2 separate regions of the Homo sapiens genome follow, and region 1 is linked to region 2. Evidence: promoter capture Hi-C in human tissues and cell types (Jung and others, 2019). All regions are on one chromosome and are shown on one strand. The core of a region is centred on a gene start or on the middle of the fragment in contact, and the rest is flanking DNA. Distances in the headings are between cores, read along the strand shown.

What was found. The method cuts DNA at HindIII sites, captures the fragments that hold promoters and counts their contacts. A contact is called where the count stands out against the background at its distance.
Region 1: a fragment that was not itself captured here is called in contact with the fragment with the promoter of FSHB in region 2 in 1 of the 25 tissues and cell types used here (lymphoblastoid cells).

What each region holds. Positions count from the first base shown.
Region 1 is chr11:30,912,302-30,916,011 of GRCh38, reverse strand. It overlaps DCDC1 (doublecortin domain containing 1), which reads left to right. Exons shown (of 39, transcript NM_001387274.1): 27 at 301-501. The region is part of intron 4 of LOC105376611 (a long non-coding RNA gene); the gene reads right to left. Among named protein-coding and RNA genes, the nearest start is that of LINC02859, 180 kb to the right of the region's middle. The HindIII fragment of the contact is 6,889 bases long and covers 1-3,710 here.
Region 2 is chr11:30,229,732-30,233,319 of GRCh38, reverse strand. FSHB (follicle stimulating hormone subunit beta) reads right to left here and starts at 2,306. Exons shown (of 3, transcript NM_001382289.1): 1 at 2,272-2,306; 2 at 1,259-1,454. The coding sequence starts at 1,417. The region is part of intron 1 of ARL14EP-DT (ARL14EP divergent transcript); the gene reads left to right. The HindIII fragment of the contact is 20,904 bases long and covers 1-3,588 here.

The sequences.
Region 1 (3,710 bases), core at 578-3,077, 680 kb before region 2:
CTCTTTAAATTACCTTGTCAACTGAAGTTCTTTTTTCTTTGCTAACGAATTTTTCAAATATTCTCCTGGTAAACATTTATTTATGTTACAAAATAAGCTCAGAATTCTACTTCTTATGTCAGCTTAGAAGTGCAGTGCTGGTAGCATTGCCGTCATTCTAATGATATGGTCTATCATTTCAAGTTAACGTGTTTCACGTTGGAGCTCTCACCAACAGAACTTATAATCTCCAGCACATCAAGTGCATGATCAAGTGCATGGGACATTTTTCTGCCACTAATAGAGATTTCTTTATCTCAGCTGTTCACCAAAGCATAGTAAATTGCACAAGCATTGTCATCAGCAGTTCGAATACAGAGATGGGCAGATTATAAGCCATGCTGCTCCTCAGCTAGTCTTGGGGGTTCAAGGTCCCAATCTCCGATCAGGCATGGAGGTGGTTTTGGTGGAGAAGAAATCTGATGGTAGTCATCAGCGCTGGATACACCAGGAAGACAGCAGGTAATCCCATTATATTTGGGTTTACTATATCAAAAGGTGAATAGGATCCTAATAAGTCTAGCATGGTCCCCACAGAACAAGATGAACTATATCTGAGAATTCTGGGTCTTCTATTTAACTTAGCTGATAATTCTTTATCCTAGCCAAAGAAGAGGAAGGGAATAAAATCAAATGTAAATGCTAGGTAAGCTACATACAATTTATCCACAATCAGATTCAGAGGAGGAATGTTCCCTCTGATCTCCTGGGTATAGTTTTATCTGGCCATTGGGCTCAAGACTGAACTTGCATCAATGTCATTTTTATGAAATGAATAGATCAAATAAGAATTCTAAAACGTCCCCAATTTTCAAATTTTTTGATACTTTTCATTAACTTACTCCCCATCCTTCCCCCAACACACACCTTCCCTCTTTCCTCCACCTTCATAAAATAACCAGTTTGTGGTTTCCACTCACGCAGTATAAACTAATTCCTATCTTAGCAAATATATCAACCTAATTCAATGTCTGGTCCTGGATCCAAATTTGAACCAACTACAGTACTGTAAAAAAGTTATTTTTGAGATAATCAGGAGAAATATAAAACAGCTTGGCTATCTGATGACATTAAGGAAGTCCTATTAATTTTGTTGGGTCCAATAATGGTTCAATGGTAATGTTAAAAAAAAAGTCCTGATAAGTTGGAAACATTGTAGTATTTACAGATAAAATTAAAAGCTATCTTAGATTTGTTGTAAGACATTCTATCATAAATAAAAATTTTAAAAGTTGAGGGGAATGGATGAAATGAGAATGGCAGAATGTTGATGGCTGTTAGGTCCATGCTGGTTGATTACACATTTCTCTCTCTCTCTCTTTTTTTTTTTTTTTTTTTTTGGGTGCATATGGAACATTTCTTTAATCGAACAAAAAAGAAAACAATTCCCTGTTTTTTAGATTGGTTTGCTTCAAATTCTACCATTAGTGTGATATGGTGGGCCTCCAGGGACCTCTTTAATCTCTTGAAATAGTGTACAAAGTGTATGTTTGTGCATCGTGCAATTTATTTTTTCTGGGAAAGAGCTGAGATTTTCACTGGCTTCTCAAAAGGTCTGCGATGAAAAGGCTTATGAATCAGTACTTTGAGGGAGGTTGCACAAGCTTCAGCAGGCGGCAGCAGCGAGCCCTGCCTGGGCAGGAGAGGAGCTGGTCTTACTCTGCTCACTGAGATGAGCAAAGCCTCCGGCAAGGAGAACTCGCTGGGCTGATGTTAGAAAAGACGGGAAAACCAATTGTGTAGACAGACCTGGTGAAAGTGTTTCTTTGCCCCATTCACCTGGGCTAAGCTGCCTTTGCAATGTGTAGGTAGGACAGCAGGCTTTTGTTTCTGTGAATGGTTTGCCATATGGAACCAGAATTCATTCATTCAACTGCCAAGGGTTATTGAGGGCAGTGTTTTAGGAGCTGTTGCTTTACAAAGAACAAAACAGATAAAAAATCTTTACTCTTATGGAGCTGACATCCTAGTGTTTCCTCATTTCTACATTGTATTTAGCAATTTATATTATTGCCTCGGCTTTCTGTATTATAGTAGAGGTCCCCACTTAAACCTAAATTGCAATTTGAGCATGGCTGATAAATTTGGGTGGACATGCATGGGGAATGAGAATGTGACCCTACGGCAAGAGAAAGCCATTGCATAATGAGTTTGACCCAGGAATACTTGGTCATTGGAAGAGAATACTAGTTCTGAATCTTGCTCAGTGTCTGTCTGCCTAAAACTCTATGAGATGTTGGGTCATGTGTAGCACTGCCTTGGAAAATCTAACCATGTATAACACAGAAGAGAAGGACAGTTTCTTTCCATCTCCTCCCACTTTGCAGAACATTCTGTACTTTTGTCATCTTGGGAGCTCCTCATGTCAAGACACGGAAAAGAGAGGCAGTTAGTGGAAGGGAGATGGTGATATTGGTTGATCCGTCATTGGAAACGTCAGAGTCCAGAGAGAAGAGGTGGAGCATCAGGGGGCCCAGTGGGACAAGATTTGCTGATAAGCACAAGTCCCCCTCTAGGGACACCCAGACAGACTTGAACAAAATAGTTTTTTTTGTTTGTTTTTTTTTTGAGACAGAGTCTCTGTTGCCCAGGCTGGAGTGCAGTGGCATGATCTCGGCTCACTGCAAGCTCCGCCTCCCGGGTTCATGCCATTCTCCTGCCTCAGCCTCTCCGAGTAGCTGGGACTACAGGCACCCGCCACCACGCCCAGCTAATTTTTTGTATTTTTAGTAGAGACAGGGTTTCATCGTGGTCTGATCTCCTGACCTTGTGATCCGCCCTCCTCGGCCTCCCAAAGTGCTGGGATTACAAGCGTGAGCCACCGCGCCCGGCCAAGAGTTTTTGCAGAAGTCTTGTTGATTAGGTGTGGGCATGATTCAGAACAATATATGTCCCATGGCAGAAGTGTGTTTGTACAGCGACAGTAATTCTGAGGTTTATTGCACATCTTCCCTTGACATATTGCTTTGTTCTCTTTCATGTGGATGGGTGGCTTTTAAAACTCATTTGTTTTGATGAGCTGGTGAAACCTAGAGAACCGTGGGTTACACTATGTAGTAGAACTTAATGGAAAATTGCATTTATGTTAACCACAGTCTTTTTATCCTCCATATTTTACCCAGGCTAGTAAATTAGGGTATATATACCCATGTACATTACATATGTATATAATATATATCACCCTATGGCTGAAGGAGATTGCCCAAGAAAGGATAAACTTGCAATGGGGTCCCCTCCCCAAGGCTAGGGTTCAGGACTCATTAAAAAAGGTATGGTTCCATTCCACTGAATTGCAGAGCAGTTTTGCTGGTGTACCTGGCCAGAGCTTGTCTGTAGTGGCTGAATGTCTTAGTCTAGTTTCTGTTACTTATAACAGAATAACTGAAACAGGGCCGGGCATGGTGGCTCATGCCTGTAATCCCAGCACTTTGGGAGGCTGAGGTGGGAGGATCACCTGAGATCACCTGGCTGGACCAGCCTGGCCAACATGGTGAAACCCCGTCTCTACTAAAAATACAAAAATTAGCTGGGCGTAGTGGCACATGCCTGTAGTACCAGCTACTCGGGAGACTGAGGCAGAAGAATCGTTTGAACCCAAGAGGTAGAGGTTGCAGTGAGTTGAGATCATGACACTGCACTCCAACCCGGGTGACAGAGTGAATCTCCATCTC
Region 2 (3,588 bases), core at 1,057-3,556:
TTTGAATTTTAGCATAGAAAAATGATGAAAAACATGACAGGATTTTAAGTTGACTTTTCATATTTAATTGAAAGCTGTATTAATAACAAACCATAAACAAAGATATCCAATGTCTCAGAAAAAATATTTTAAAATACACTGCCCTGAGTATTTATAAAAGGTCAAAAATATATAATTTTAAATTTTAATGCTTAAGTTAACATGTTTGCTAAGGCTAACATAAGATTTTAAATATTCCAACTCCTTGTGGACATTTTTCTCCCTTGAAAGCTGTATACTTTGCAGGGTTCCTAGTTTCAAAGGATATGCAGTTTGCATATAAGAATTTTTAATCCAGGTAGAAATTATTTGTAGTAGCACTTTCCAGTGGAAAAATTATTTATACTGCGTAGAGAAATTGGGGCTTCTGTTTATTTTAATATCATCCTACCAAATGTATATCCCAAGAAGGTGCAATAAATTGTGTAATAAATGGAGTTTGATCAAACTCATTTACCGTCAAATAAAGTATCGTTCATTTAAAAAGTTGCCATTTTCAATTTTAGTTTATAGAATGAAATTCTGCATAGATAATTAGGGGTGCTGCAGAGAAAAAAGAAAGCACCATGGAAACTATTTCTCTACTTGTATTAATGCAAGGAAACTGCAAACACAGACTAGCAACTGATGCCTCTATGTCTTGGTTTTCTCAATGCTATAACGAAGGGAGTGGGTTTGCTGATTCATTTTTGTTCTAACAGTCTGCAAGAATTGATTGTGTTCTCAGGCTGTTTTTTGGCATTTGTATTTAGTAGGGCCAGGAAGACAATTTTTTTAAGTGGCTGTCTATGTTTTTATGTGACTTGGAGACATATTTTGGTGTGATTTTGTGTCAAAGATGTAGTGTCAGTTAAAGAAATTGCCTTTATGAGAATATTATAGGTCCTTTATGATTAAATATATGTATGTTTCCATGTTTATCTCTCTATGTGTAAAAACGTAACATAGAAATACTTTTTCCCTGTAGATGCAAAGTTGGACTAGTACCAAATTGATCAGATTAAATCTGAGGCTTTCCTAAATTTACCCAAATCAAATCCAAGCCCAAACATCTAAGTGATATCGTGGTCATTAACCCCAATCACAACACAGACAGTCTTGGCTAAAGGACTCATGGCTGTTACTTAGAATACATAAAATATTGATAAAGTAGAAACTAATGAAACCGGCCTAATACAGACCTTCAACACCCTTGCTTCCAGCAAAACATGGTACCTACCCTGGTGTAGCAGTAGCCAGCACACCAAGTGGTGTTGATGCTTATGCAGAAACGACATTCTTCTTTCTCTATTGCAATGGTGATGTTGGTCAGCTCACAGCTATTGCAGCAGATTGCTTTCCAGCAACAGAAAAGGAAGAAAAACTGGAGTGTCTTCATCCTGGTCTGGGAAGCAAACAATGAAGCCCACTAGAAACTGAGAAACCAAAGAACGATAATCATTATGTAAGCTGACCAAACCAAAAATAATTGGTCTGCTCATCCTCCTCAATCACATTTTGCTTCAAAAGTTTTTTTTCCTTCCTTATGCCTTTTTACTTACATCTTTGTTTCTTGGAACAACATTTTTCCTTGTCCTTCTTCAATTTTTGGGTCAGGGTGGGAATATATTATAGATCAAAACTCCAATATAATGATTTAAGCAGAGGAATATTTAAAGATTAGAATCTTATTGCTGACTGTCATAAAGTAATTACTCTGATAATTGTGATCATCATATTTGTTCTTCCATTATTATTTTAAAGTCTATTTTTGTCTGAAAAGAAAAATAAAATTCTTTTCTTTTCTTGAGACAGGGTCTTGCTCTGTTGCCCAGGCTGGAGTGCAGTGGTATAATCATGAATCACTGCATCTTCAACCTTCCAGGCTCAAGCAATCCTCTGACCTTGGCCTCCCAAAGTGCTGGGATTACAAGCATGAGCCACCATTCCTGGCCAAGAAAATTCTATACTACAAAATTATGTCTTCATTTTTAGAATCTCATAAATATTTTCTTTTGCTCACATTTGTTTAAAATAAGACCATTTCAGAAGAGAGGCATATTGGTCTATAAAGTCAGTTACTTGCTAACAGTGATTACGTTATATTAACCATATTTTACAAGCCAGGTTGACAAGCATAAATTTCCTACACAACAGTAGTGAGAAGCTCTAGTTTTGTCCTCCATGTCCTGACAAATCTGTAATTTCAAAAGTAGCTGTCACCACTTGAAAACGGTAGATGCCAAGACTCACCTGTGGTCGGCTGCCTTGCCTGGCAAGAGCTGTAGACTGAATGAAATCTCAGTTCACCTTTTATACAAAATCATGTGCAACTAACACCTTGTGGATTTGTTGGGTATTAATATGACCAATGCTAGCCTGAAGCTTGCTGTAAGTGAATCAGTGTTTAGATAGACAGGGAGATCAAGCTTTACTAAAGTAGTCTAAACGCAGTAGATTAGAAAAAATAATGTTACTAGAGATGATGATTTTGTACAAATTAAATTTGATACAGTAGCACACCCACTCCTTTACCTTCTCAAATTAATTGTGACTCCAGATTTTTCTTTTGTATCTTTAAATCAGGAAATTCAGAGTCCTTTCCAAGTATTGCTTTGACTCTGTTCAGGAGATGCATTAAAAAATATGGTTAATAAATTGCTCCAAGAGCATATCAAAAGCTGTGAAGGAAGAAACAAACAAAGAGAAAACATTTCATGATCTGGCTCCTGTCTAAAGTGTGAACTGTATCTCTCTTTCCCTCCCACATTCTGGCCCCCTAATCACAAATCTTTATTTTTTGATGTTTTAGCAAGAACTTTCTACTTTACTTGTAATTCCATAAATATGTTGCTGATTCATATCTTTAGATCTTTGCATGTAATGTTCTTCCTGCCTGAAATGTCCTTGCTTCCTCCCTGCCTCCTCCAACACCACCCTGAACCCTGGCAAATTCCTCAACCTTCAACATCCAGGGGAGTTTCACCTGTCAAAGTTTAGGATGGGAGGTGAGGGAGAACCATAATCACTACCTTCTGTGTGTAACCATTTATAGGCTCTTGTTTCCTCCAATAAACTATGATCTCTTTGGAGACTAGGATTGCTTTGTTTAATAAATATTTACTAATCAAACAGTGTGACTGGAGCAAAAGGACAACAGCAGTAATATTAGAATATGATGTCAGAGAGATAACAGGAGTCAAATGTTGGAACTTGTAGACCAGTGTAAGGGCTCTGGTTTGTACTCTTTGTGTAATGGGACCCATTGAAGGATTTTAAGTAGAGGAGTGACGTGACATGATCTGATTGAGTTCTAAAAGGACTCCTCTGACTGCTGTGTTGCTAATATAGGGGAACCAAGAAACAGGAAGACCCGTTAGGATGCTATCAATAACCCAGGTGAGAAATGATGTTTGTTCAATAACCCAGGTGAGAAATGATGTTTGTTCAGACTAGTATGGTAGCTATTGGAGGTAATGAGACATGCTCTGACTCTGTATGCATTTTGAAAGTAGAACCAACAAAATTTTCTGATGGATAGATGTTGAGTGTGAGAGGAGGAAAAGGGTC